2 separate regions of the Homo sapiens genome follow, and region 2 is linked to region 1. Evidence: promoter capture Hi-C in 16 types of primary human blood cells and fetal thymus (Javierre and others, 2016). All regions are on one chromosome and are shown on one strand. The core of a region is centred on a gene start or on the middle of the fragment in contact, and the rest is flanking DNA. Distances in the headings are between cores, read along the strand shown. Region 1 holds the start of SLC25A36 (solute carrier family 25 member 36). Region 2 has its middle 35 kb from the start of PXYLP1.

Region 1 (6,928 bases), core at 1,777-4,276:
CATGGTGGCAGGCACCTCTAATCCCAGTTACTACGGAGGCTGAGGCAGGAGAACCACTTGAACCCAGGAGGTGGAGGTTGCAGTGAGCTGAGATTGCACCATTGCACTCCAGCCTGGGTAACAAGAGCAAGACTCTGTTTCAAAAAAAACAAGCAAAAACAAAAACAAAACAACAACAAAAACAATCCCATCAAAAAATGAATGAAGGATATGAACAGACACTTCTCAAAACAAGACGTTTATGTGGCCAACAAACATATGAAAAAAAGCTCATCACCACTAGTCATTAGAGAAATGCAAATGCAAACCACAATGAGATACCATCTCACGCCAGTTAGAATGGCGATCATTGAAAAGTCAGGAAACAACAGACGCTGGAGAGAAGGTGGGGAAATAGGAATGCTTTCACACTGGGTAACAGTGTGGGAGTGTAAATAAGTTCAACGATTGTGGAAGATGGTGTGGCGATTCCTCAAGGATCTAGAAATACCATTTGACCCAGCAATCCTATTACTGGGTATATACCCAGAGGTCTATAAATCATTCTACTATAAAGACACATGCACACGTATGTTTCTGGCAGCACTATTCACAATAGCAAAGACTTGGAACCAACCCAAATGCCCATCAATGTTAGACTGGATAAAGAAAATGTGGCACATACACACCATGGAATACTATGCGGCCATAAAAAAGATGAGATCATGTCCTTTGGAGGGACATGGATGACGCTGCAAACCATCATTCTCAGCAAACTAACACAAGAACAGAAAACCAAACACCCCATGTTCTCACTCATAAGTGGGAGTTGAAAAATGAGAACATATGGGTACAGGGAGGGGAACATCCACTCTGGGGCCTGTCGGGGGTTGGGGGGCAAGGGGATGGATAGCATTAGGAGAAATACCTAATGTAGACAACGAGTTAATGGGTGCAGCAAACTACCATGGCACATGTATACCTACATAACAAACCTCCACATTCTCCACATGTATCCCAGAACTTAAAGTATATTAAAAAAAAAAAAAAAAAAGGAACTGGTAACAAAGAAAATCTCAGAAAGTTTCTTACTCTTTTCAGTTAAGAGAAGGATGGAATATATGTAAATTTAAATTTATATAAACATTTTTCCTAACTAAAAAAAAAACTATGTATGAATTTCAAACTTTTTTGCACCAAAAATTCGTACTCACTTGTTATAATGTATCTGAACAAGATCTAGTTTGAGGCACTAAAAAGGATAAGACATCAGCTTGAAAACAGCCCCTATCAGAGCAGCATGAATTGAAGCAAGAAAAAACATCAAATTTATGGTCAAGATTGGGTGGAAGAATGGTGAAATCAAGGATGCTTTACAAAAGTTTGATGGGGAAAATTCCCCCAAAGAAATCTGAAGTTTACAAATGGATAACTTGTTTGCAGAAGGGATGAGACAATGTTGAAGAGGAAGCCTGCAGTGGCAGACAATCCACATCGATTTTTGAGGAAAAGATTATTCTTCGGTGTGCCCTAATTGAAGAGGACCCACAATTAACAGCACAAATAATATACAACACCATAGACATTTCAACTGGTTCTACTTACACATTTCTCACTGAAAAACTGAAGTTGAGCAAACTTTTCACCCGATGGGTGCAAAACTGTTGCACCCAGATGAGCTGCAGACAAGAGCAGGGCTTTCAATGGAAATTGTAAACAAGTGGGATCATATATTGAAACATTTCTTTGAAGAATTGTAACAGGAGATCAAACATAGCTTTCTCAGTATGATTCTGGATCAAAGCAATAGTTACCAAGAGGTGCAAGTGGTCCAGTCAAATCAAAAGTAGACTGGTCAAGAGCCGAAGTCATAGCAGCAGCTTTTTGGGATGCTCAAGGTATTTTGCCTGTTGACTTTCTGGAGGGTGGAAGAGCAATAACATCCGCTTACTATAGGAGAAAGTGAAGCAAAGCTTTAGCATAAAAACACCTACGAAATCTTCACCAGAGAGTCCTTCTCCATCAGGACAATGTTCCTGCTCATTCCTCTCTTTAAATAAGGGCATTTTTCCAGGGATTTCGATGGGAAACTATCAGGTATCCATCTTACATTCCTGACCTGGCTCCTTCTGACATATTTTTGTTTTCTAATCGTGAAAAATCTGTAAATGGCACCCATTTTTCTTCAGTTAATAACGTAAAAAAGCCTGCATTTTCATGATTAAATTCCCAGAACCCTCAATTCTTTACAGATGGACTAAAGAGCCGGTATCATCACTTACCAAACTGTCTTTAACTTGATGGAGCTTACGTTGAAAAACAAAGTTTATATTTTTAAATTTTATCTTTTAATTCCATTTCCCATGAACTTTTATTCTTTTAAAAACAAACCCAAGTATTTTAATTCTACTTGCCTTTTTTACTTATTACACACTTCGGGAGATTTTTTGCCATATGGAATCACCTCATCCCTTGTCACGATTGCATAATATTCCATAGTAGGAATGTTTCATGATTTATTTCTTCATTCCCCCACTGATTTCAATTTTCTGCAACTGCAAGCATTGTTCATAATTCTGTACTGTTTGTGAGCCTATATAGGAGTATCCGTGCACAAACCTTTTTATGCATTGTGCGAGGGTTACTCTGAGATAGACACCAAGGGAACTGCTGGGTCATAAATCCAATTTTTTCAAAGTAAATCCGCTTGCGAACCCGGAACCAAGTCGATTTTTCCCGCCCCGCCAGTTCCCTGTTCAGGAGAGTGCAGCCGTGATTGGCGCGTTCACTCAGGCCAGGGGCGCCCCAGGTCTCAGGTGCTAGGAGCGCGGTGACCTACCACCCTCCGGGCACGCGTTCTGGCCACGCCTCGCGGCCCCTTTCATTGAAAGAGCCCGTAGGGATCACGTGAAAGAACACTGCAGAGTGCGTGACGTCACGACGCTCACACCAATGGGAGCCTCTGTTTATGTCGGGAGCCATCAAATAGTCATCTTCCCCCTACCATCCCCCGCCCACTCTCCGTCGCGCTGCGCTGCGTCGCTTTCAGCCTCTGGTGAAGGGCGGCGCGCTTAGGCAGGCGGTGGCGCGGCTGGAGTGCCGCGGGGAGGGCTGTGCCGGTTGCTTTCTGCAGCCGCATCTCGGCCAGCTCTCCTCGCCGTCCCCGGGGCGCTGTGCGTCTCCAGTCCGGGACCGAAGCCGCCTGCCGTAGCGGGCGGCCAGATCCGCGTCCCGCCTCAGCGGCCGGAGGACATGCGGGAGAGAGAATGAGCCAGAGGGACACGCTGGTGCATCTGTTTGCCGGAGGGTAAGGTCCTGGCGGGGCGTGCGCACTGGGGCTGAGGGTGCTGGGGCCGAAGACGCAGGCGAGGGGGGCGAGGGGGGCCGAGGGGGGTGGGGGGGTGGGGGGGCGGGAGTGAGGCCTGGGCGGGGAGCTGCCACGGGCCTGCGGGTGAGGGGAGCGACCCAGCCCGTGGGTGGTGAGGGGGGCTCCGGTTCGGGGAAGCAAGGGGGTGAGGCCCGGGCCCGAGGGCGAGAGAGTGAGGCCCGGGCAAAGAGGGTTGAGGCATGAAACCCGGGCCGGGAGTGAGGTTTTGGGCCCGCGGGGCCGGGGTGAGGCGGAGGCCGAATCCATGCGTCTGAGGAGACGCGGGCAAGAGCTGGGGTCGGCGCTTGATTACCCGGACGCCGCTGGACCTGGCCGCACGCCGCAATCTAGCAGGCGTCGGGGATCCAGGGCCGCTTTGAGGAGCCTGGCTTCGGATTTCGCGTAGGTTGCATGGCCCAAGGGGACGGGGCGGAAAGTGCGGAGGCTGAGGACAAAATGGGCGCCGGAGACTCCTTTAGCCCTCGCTCCTTGCAGCGCTCGCTTGGGCCTCTGCACGTCACTCACGCCCCACCTCGGACCTCGGGCCGCTCATTTCCGGGCTCGGCTTTGCAAGGTGGGTGGTAAGGGGGCTACGGGATCGAGCGGGGAAGGCTTTGGTATTCTCCCGTGGTTGCTGTAGGGTGTTTCTAGCCCTTGGAAAATTTCTTGCCCGAGGTTTTCCAGGTGGTGAATGGGGTGCAAAGCTTTCCAGTACCTTTGGGGTCAGATTCCTTTCGAGAAAACCACCCCTCTTGAACACCGCTTGCTTTTCTGCTGCTTAGGAGAAAGTAGGAGTGGAGAGAGGTCAGATTTTTTGAAGATAGTGTTAATAGTTACTATGTGTGTGCAAGATTAGGACTAAGCCTAAAGTCTTAGTTCCCTGATTGCCAAAATGAGTGTTAGAGCTTCCAGTTTAGCCTCCTGTTTAGATTTGCTCCTTCTAAATCATTTGGAGAATCATAGCAATTTTAAGAGTTACTTATTTGGAGGATTATAAAGAGTTTTCTTATCAAAAATGCCTTCGGTGAATTATGCTGAGACTCTTACCGGCATCTTCTTAAATCCTGCAGTTTTTAGATCGACTTTTAAGAATATGAAAGAAATACACACGCAGTTCTATTCACGGTGCCTTGCTTTGAGTTGGACATATGGACTCTATTGAGCCAGTGATGGCAATACTTTCTTTAGGTTGGCACACTTTCATCAACAAATATTTGTTGTACACCAATTATGGGCCGGCCACTGTTCTGGCATAAAAACAATATTTTTCTATTGATCTGTGAGACCCAGTTTAGGCAGTTTGCTTTCCATATTTCTGAAATGTTTACTGCCAATAATCAGGCAAATTAAATCTTTTTAAAAAAATTCTGTAGCTATGTAGATGCTCTTGAAAAGATCTCATGCAAATAATTGAGCTCCCTCTTGTAATTAGATCTATAACCCTGAAGTGAGGAGACCGCAGATGTAGTCTAGCACTATTTTAATTTGGGTGAAAAATGGACACTTTTATTTCAATTGCTTCATCTATAAAATTAGGAGGTTGTATTATATGATCTCTAAAGCCCTTCTCTAGCTCCTAACATTTCTATTATTCTGCGTTCAGGATTCATGTATCAAGTTTAGTTAAAAATGGGGCATACTTATATTTGAAATAAATGTTAGCTTGATTGCACTAATTTCCCACTTTGGATTAGGATCATCATTTTGTTATAAAAACATGTAAATATAGGTTTTCTGGTTTAAGAACAGGAATGGGAGGTGTTTGTAGCATCTAAACACACAGATTAGGAGCTCCATCCCCTCCCCCCCAGTCTAGCATATGTAGTTAGAGTATTAAATGAGATATGGTATGTAGGATTTGATACAAGATAGGTGCTCAGCCGTATAATTTCTCTTCCTTTGCATCTCATCTTGATTTTATTTTTATATGTGGTTACATAAGTGAGTTCAGTAAAACACACCTTATCTTTTTAAAGGAAGCCCAGTATATTTTAAAAGAACCAAGAGTAACCTTTCACAGAGTATTTAATCTTAGGCAAGGGTTTTCCGAATATGGAGCCTTTAAGTTGTTTTTCTGATAAGTAGAATTGTAATATTCAAATATGTTTATCGGAATCCCACATTTCTAATAGCCTAGTAGCTGTATTGTTAAACACCAGCACTGGACCTTGGTTCTGGGTGAAATACTCACATGCATAACTCGTGCTTTCTTTAAGACACCCTTTGATCCCATTATGCTTTTGCCAGAGTTAATATTCAGAGTTTGTAAGGTCAGTAGTTAGGTTAATTGAGTTAAGGAACGATATCATGACAGCCTGTAAAAAAGGTGTAAATGTGATTTAATTTTAGCTGTACCTCTAATGTATGTATATAGAGATGAAAGCACTATTAAATGTATTTTTAAAGACTGATAGAATTGTACATTGTCTAGTTATTGTATCAGCTGCATATATCTACAGAGGCAGCTCATTTTTTTTCTATTTGAGGGAGATATTGTCTCAAATAGGAGCTATATACCTTAAGATTTTAAGTGGATGAAGTATTTTCTTTGCAGCTCTTATGACAGATAATTTAATATATGTAGTGAGTAAAATCAAAGATGATCTAAGAACTGTCTATTTTTATATCCTGGAGCTCATTCATTTGCTCAATCATTATTATTTATTCAGTAGGAAATTCCCATTTGGGTATAATGAACGATATTTGTTAAATTATTTCACCTGTTTGCTTGAAGATCAGGGCAGAAGTAGAATACTTAAAAGTATAATTAATGTGATTTATTTCCGCTTCACTCTGACCATATTTTTATTAGTCTCATTTCCTTAATTTTTACTACCTCTCCTTTTCCTCTGTCTTGCTCTGTTTAAGCTGCTATTACAAAATACCAAAAACTGGTGGCTTATAAATAACAAATATTTCTAACAGTCCTGAAGGCTGGGAAGTTCAAAATTAAAGCAGTAACAGGTTTTTTGATGATGGTCTACTTCCTCATAGAAGATACTCTCTTGCTGTATCCTCACGTAGTAGGAGAGGCTAGCCAAGATCTCTGGTGTCTTATAAAGGTACTAATCCCAAATGTCAGGGCTACAATCTCATGACCTAATCACCTTGAAAGCGTCTACCTCCTAATACTATCACCTTGGGATGTGAGTAGGATTTCATCTTACTAGTTTTGGGGGAGACAAACATTCAGACATCCTCCTTCCCTTTTTTTCCTTCTAAAAATGCATTCCGTTCTTCTTACTAATAGACTGCAAAACTAAGGGAAGTTTCTTATCCTGTTGGAGAATATTCTCAAATCATTTTTCTATAAATGAATTACTGTAGCACAGCAGCTACCATTTTTCTGCAAATGGATTAGTGTAGCACAACATTGTGGGTCAGGGATTCTCCTTCTTGAGACCCTTGTTGTGGTCTGAGAGTTTAAAACTATTTTCATAAAAATACATTATTGGCACAAATTTGTTGACATTTGTCCTGATGGTGCAAAAGCAATGATGGGTAAAACTGCTGATGCCTTAGCATGCATGAAGGCAGTGGCACCAGACTGTAGTCATCGTATTCACCTCCAGGTACTTGCAA
Region 2 (6,928 bases), core at 1,782-4,281, 250 kb after region 1:
CAGGAGCTTTGGATACTCCAGCTCCGGGCTTCCCAGCAAAAGTAACCGCAATTCTGACAAAGCAGGTTAGACCCCTATACATACCCCTAGGAAAAAGGCTGAATCCAGGGGGCCAAGCACTAATGGTCTGCAGGCCCCACTTCCACAGTGCCTCACAGGATAAAAATTCCAGCCAGACACCAGTAGCAGCATGGCGCCTCCCTGGGATGGAGCTCCTGGGGGTAGGGCAGGCTGCCAGGTTTGCTGTTAGGGCAACTTAGCTGTTCCAGTCTGTGGGCTTTGGAGAGTCCAAACTGACCAGGGGCAGAAGGGATCCCCCAGCACAGCACAGCTGCTCTACCAAAACATGGCCAGACTGTTGTTCTTTAAGCAAGTTCCCAATCCATTCCTCCTCACCAGGCAGGACCTCCTAACCAGAGCCTCCAGCCACCCCACCAGTGTTCTCTGGCCAACAGAGATTTGAAAACTCCCTGGGACAGAGCTTTCAGAGGGAAGGGTGGGCCACCATTTTTGTTGTTTGGGTGACTTAGCCGTTCCAGCCTGCAGTCTTTGGAAAGCCCACCTGACCAGGGCAGAAGTGGTACCCCAACATAACACAGCTGCTCTGTGAAAGTGTGGCCAGACTGCTTCTTTTTCTTTTTTTTTTTTTTTTTTGAGATGGAGTCTCGCTCTGTCACCCAGGCTGGAGTGCAGTGGCATGACCTCGGCTCACTGCAAGCTCTGCCTCCTGGGTTCACGCCATTCTCCTGCCTCAGCCTCCTGAGTACCTGGGACTACAGGCGCCTGCCACCACACCCGGCTAATTTTTTGTATTTTTAGTAGAGACGGGGTTTCGCCATGTTAGCCAGGATGGTCTCGATCTCCTGACCTCATGATCCACCCGCCTTGTCCTCCCAAAGTGCCGGTATTACAGGTGTGAGCCACCGCGGCCGGCCGCCAGACTGCTTCTTTAAAGCAGGTTCCTGATCCCGTTCCTCCTCACTGGGCAGAACCTCCCAAATGGGACCTCCAGCCACCCCTGCCGGTGTTCTCTGCCCAACAGAGATTTGAAAACTCCCCGGGACAGATTTCCGGAGGGAGGAGTGGGCCACCATTTTTGCTGTTTAGGTGACTTAGCCGTTCCAGCCTCTGGGCTCTGGAAAGCCCAAGCTGACTGGGGGAAGGAGAGGTACCCCAACACAGCACAGCTGCTCTATGAAAGCATGGCCACAGTGTCTCTTTAAGCAGTCCCTGATCCTCTTCCTCCTCACTGGGCAGAACCTCCCAACCGGAGCCTCCAGCCACCCCCACCGGTGTTCTTCAGCCTGCAGAAATTTGAAAACTCCCTGGGACAGAACTCCCAGAGGGAGGGGTGGGCCACCATCTTTGCTGTTTGGGTGACTTAGGAGTTCCAGCCTTCAGGCTTTAGAGAGTCCAAGCCAACCAGGGGTGGAAGTAGTATCCCAGCACAGCACAACAGACCCATGAAAACATGGCCAGACTGCTTTTTTAAGAGGGAGGACAAACTCATTCCTCATCACCAAGTGGAGCCTCCTAACCAGAGCCTCCAGCTACACTCACCAGTGTTCTCCAGCTGACAGAAGTTTCAGGACTCCTTGGGATGGATACCTCCTCCCCCAGGAGGAGGGGCAGGCTGCCATCTTGGCTGTTTGGTCAACTTAGCCATTCCAGCCTTTGGGCTTTGGAATGTCCAAGGTGACCAGGGGCTGAAGTGTATCCCCAGCACAGCACAGCTGCTCTATGAACATATGGCCAGACTACTTTTTTAAGGAGGTCCCAATCCCATTCTTTCTGACTGAATGAGACCTCCTATCTGGAGTCCCTGGCCATCTACAGATGCATTTGAGCCAGCAACAGGTCCATACCACCTTGGAACAGAACTTCCAAAGGAAGGGGCAGGCTGCCATCTGTGCTGTTTTGCAGCCTTCACTGGTGATACCTCCAGACACTGAAAAATCTGAGGTGACCATGCACTGGAGCAGACCCCCAGCATACTGTAGCAGCCTGACAGAAAGGTGGCCAGACTGTTAAAAGAAAAAAAAAATCCATCCAAAAGTCAGTAACCTCAAAGATTGAAGGCAAATAAGCCCAGAAAGATGAGAAGGAGTCAGTGCCAGACCACTGAAAACTCAAAAAGCCAAAGTGTCCTCTTTCTCCCAAATGACCACATAACCTCTCCAGCAAAATTTCAGATGAGGCTGAGATAGCTAAAATGACAGAAGTAGAATTCAGAATATGGAAAGTTCAGAATATGGAAAGTTCATGGAACTAAAGGAGTACATTGTAACTCAATGCAAGGAAGCTAAGAATCATGCTAAAATATTGCAGGAGCTAACAAAGTAGCCAGTATAGAGAAGACTGTAACTGACCTGATAGAGCTGAAAGACACAGTACAGGAACTTCATAATGCAATCACAAGTATTAATAGCAGAATACAACAAGCGGAGGAAAGAATATCAGAGCTTGAAGACTGCCTTTCTGAAATAAGACAGGCAGACGAGAGAGAAAAAATGAATAAAATGGAATGAACAAAACCTGCAAGAAAAAGAATGAGATTATGTGAAGAGACTGAATCTACGATTGATCAGTGTACCTGAAAGAGATGGGGAGAATGGAACCAACTTGAAAAACATATTTCAGTATATCCTTGAGAACTTCCTCAACCTAGCTAGAGAGGCCAGCATTCAAATTCAGGAAATGCAGAAAACCCCAGTGAGATACTCAATATGAATATCATCCCCTAAGACACATAATCATCAGATTCTCCAAGGTGGAAATGAAAGAAAAAATGTTAAAGGCAGCTAGAGAGAAAGGCTAGGTCACCTACAAAGGGAAGCCCATAAGACTAACAGCAGACCCCTCAGCTGAAATTCTACAAGCCAGAAGGGATTGAGGGCCGATATTCGACATTCTTAAAGAAAAACATTCCAACCCAGAATTTAATATTCAGCAAAACTAAACTTCATAAGCAAAGTAGAAATAAGATTTTTTCAGACAAACAAATGCTGAGGGAATTTGTTACCACCAGACCTGCCTTACTTCCTGAAGAAAGCACTAAATATGGAAAAGAAAGACCATTAGCAGACACTACAAAAACACACTGAAATGTACAGACCAGTGACACTATAAAGCAACCACGTAAGTCTGCAAAATAAACAGCTAACATCATGATGACAGGATCAAATCTATACATACCAATACTAACCTTAAATGTGAATGGCACAATGCCCCAGTTTAAAAAACATAGAGTGGCAAGCTGGATAGAGAACCAAAGTCCAATGGTATGGTATCTTCAAGAGAGTCATTTCACATGCAACAACACACATAGCCTCAAAATAAAGGGATGGAGGAAAATCTACCAAGCAAATGGAAAACAGAAGAAAACAGGGGTTGCAATCCTAGTTTCTGACGAAACAGACTTTAAACCAACACGATCAAAAAAGACAAAGAAGGGCATTACATAATGGTAAAGGGTTCAATTCAACAAGAAGATCTAACTATCCTAAATATATATGCGCTCAACACAGGGGCACCCAGGTTCATAAAGCAGGTTCTTAGAGACCTTCAAAGAGACTTAGATTCCCACACAATAATAGTGGGAGACTCTAAAACCCCGCTGACAATATTAGATTATTGAGAAAGAAAATTAACAAAGACATTCAGGACCTGAACTCAGCACTGGATCAAATGGACTTGATAGACACCTACAGAACTCTCCACCCAAAAACAAGAGAATATACATTCTTCTCATTGCTACATGGCACTTACTGTAAAGTTGATCACATAATTGGAAGTAAAATACTCCTCAGCAAATGCAAAGGAACCAAAATCATAAAAAACACTCTCTTGGACCACAGTGCAATCAAATTCAAAATCAAAACTAAGAAATTCACTCAAAACCATACAATTTCATGGAAGTTGAATAACATGCTCCTGAATGACTTTTTAATAAATAATGAAATTAAGGCAGAAATCAAGGAGTTCTTTCAAACTAATGAGAACAAAGATACCATATACCAGAATCTCTGGGACACAGCTAAGGGAGTGTTAAGAGGAAAATTTATAGCACTAAATGACCACATCAAAAAGTCAGATCTCAAGTTAACAACCTAACATCACAAAAGAAACTAGTTCTAAAAGAACTAGAGAACAAAGAACAAACAAATGCCAAAGTTAGCAGAAGTCAAGAAATAGAGCTGTACTGAAGGAGATAGTGACATGAAAAACCCTTCAAACAATCAATGAATCCAGGAGCTGGTTTTTTGAAAAAAAATTAATAAAATAGGTAAACCACTAGCTAGACTAATAAAGAAGAAAAGAGAGAAGATTCAAATAAACACAGCCAGAAACAACAAGGAGGATATTGGCACTGACCCCACAGAAATACAAACTACCATCAGAGAATATTATAAACACCTCTGTGCATATAAAGTAGAAAATGTAGAAGAAATGGATAAATTCCTTGACACATACCCCTTCAAAGACTGAAACAGGAATAAATTGAATCCCTGAATAGATCAATAACGAGTGGTGAAATTGTGGCAGTAAGAAATAGCCTACTGATCAAAAAAAGTTCAAGACCAGACAGATTCACAGCTCAATTCTTCCAGACATACAAAGAAGAGCTAGTACCATTCCTACTGAAGCTATTCCAAAAAATTGAGAAAGAGGGACTTCTCCCTAACTCATTCTGAGGCCAGCATCATAGAATGATACCAAAACCTGGCAGACATACAACAAAAAAAGGAAACTTTAGGCCAATATCCTAGATGAACATCAATGCAAAAATCCTCAACAAAATACTGGCAAACCAAATCCAGTAGCACATCAAAAAGTTTATCCACCATGATCAAGCAGGCTTCACTGTGGATGCAAAGTTGGTTCAACATACACAAATCAATAAATGTGATTCATTACATAAATGGAACCAAAGACAAAAAGCACATAATTTTCTCAATAGAATGCAGAAAAGGATTTTTATAAAATTCAACATTAATTCATGTTAAAAACTCTCCATAAACTAGGTATTGAAGGAACATACCTCAAAATAATAAGAGCCATGTATGACAAACCCACAGCCAACATCATACTGAATGGGCGAAGGCTGGAAGCATTTTCCTTGAAAACTGGCAGAAGACAAGGATGCCCTCTTTTGCCACTCCTATTCAACGTAGTATTGGAAATTCTGGCCAGGGCAATCAGGCAGGAGAAAAAAAATGAATGGCATCCAAATAGGAAGAGAGGAAGTCAAATTATCACTGTTTGCAGATGACATGATTCCATATCTAGAAAACACCATAGTCTCAGCACAAAAGTTTATAAGCTGATAAACAACTTCGGCAAAGTCTCAGGATACAAAATCAATGTGCAAAAATCACTAGCATTTCTATACACCAACAACAGTGAAGCTGAGAGCCAAATCAGGAAAAAATTCCCATTCACAATTGCCGCAAAAAGAAGAGATACCTAGAAATACAGCTAACTAAGGAGGTGAAAGGTCTCTACAAAGAGAACCACAAACCACTGCTCAAAGAAATCAGAAAGGACACAAACAAATGGAAAAATATTCCATGCTCATGGATAGGAAGAATCAACATCATTAAAATGGCTATACTGCCCAAAGCAATTGATAGATTCAATGCTATTCTTATTAAACTACCATTTACATTCTTCACAGAACTAGAGAAAACTATTTTAAAATTCATATGGAACCAAAATAGAGCCTGAATAGCCAAGGCAATTCTAAGCAAAAAGAACAAAGCTGGAGGCATCATGCTACCTGACTTCAAACTATGCTACAGGGCTCAGTAACCAAAATAGCATGGTACTGGCACAAAAACAGACACACAGACCAGTGGGACAGAATAGAGAACCCAGAAATGAGATCACACACCTGCAACTACCTGATCTTAGACAAACCTGAAAAAAACAAGCAATGGGGAAAGGATTCCCTATTCAATAAATGGTGCTGGTATAACTGGCTAGCCATATTGCAGAAGATTGGAACTGGATTCCTTCCTTACATCTTATACAAAAATTAACCCAAGATTGATTAAAGACTTAAATGTAAAACCCAAAACTATAAAAATCCTGGAAGACAACATAGGCAATACCATTCCGTATGCACGGCAAAGATTTCATGGTGAAGATACCAAAAGCAATTGCAACAAAAGCAAAAATTGACAAATGAGATCTAATTAAATGTAAGAGCTTCTGCACAGCAAAAGAAACTATCAACAGAATAAACAGACAACCTACAGAATGGGAGAAAATATTTGCAAACTATGTATCTGACAAAGGTCTAATATCCAGAGTCTATAAGGAACTTAAACAAATTTACAAGAAAAAAAACAAGCAACCCCATAAAAAAATGGGCAAATGACATGAGCAGACACATTTTGAAAGAAGACATACATGCAGCCAATAATCATGAAAAAAAGCTCAACAGCACTGATCATTAGAGAAATGCACATCAAAACTGTAATGAGGTACCATCTCACACCAGTCAGAATGGCTACTATTAAAAAGTAAAAAAAGAAACCCAGATGTTGGTGAGGTTGTGGAAAAAAAGGAACACTTCTACACTGTTGCTGGGAGTGTAAATTAGTTCAGCCATTGTGGAAGGCAGTGTAACAATTCCTCAAAGACCTAAAGACAGAAATACTATTCGACCCAGCAATCCCATTGCTGGATATATACCCAAAGGAATATAAATCATTCTATTATAAAGACACATACACATGTATGTTCACTGCAGCACTATTCACAATAGCAAAGGCATGGAATCAACCTAAATGACCATCAATGATAGACTGGATAAAGAAAATGTGGCACATATACACCATGGAATACTCTGCAGCAATAAAAAGAAAGAGATGATGTCTTTTTCAGGGACATGGATGGAACTAGAGGCCATTATCCTTAGCAA

What was found. The method cuts DNA at HindIII sites, captures the fragments that hold promoters and counts their contacts. A CHiCAGO score of 5 or more calls a contact.
Region 2: a fragment that was not itself captured here is called in contact with the fragment with the promoter of SLC25A36 in region 1 in 1 of 17 cell types (fetal thymus); the score reaches 6.1 in fetal thymus.

The regions. Positions count from the first base shown.
Region 1 is chr3:140,938,810-140,945,737 of GRCh38, forward strand. It overlaps SLC25A36 (solute carrier family 25 member 36), which reads left to right and starts at 3,027. Exons shown (of 7, transcript NM_001104647.3): 1 at 3,027-3,286. The coding sequence starts at 3,246. RefSeq lists enhancers at 3,001-3,370, 3,464-4,311, 3,951-4,180. The HindIII fragment of the contact is 2,098 bases long and covers 1,951-4,048 here.
Region 2 is chr3:141,193,404-141,200,331 of GRCh38, forward strand. No RefSeq gene overlaps it. Among named protein-coding and RNA genes, the nearest start is that of PXYLP1, 35 kb to the right of the region's middle. The HindIII fragment of the contact is 8,441 bases long and covers 1-6,928 here.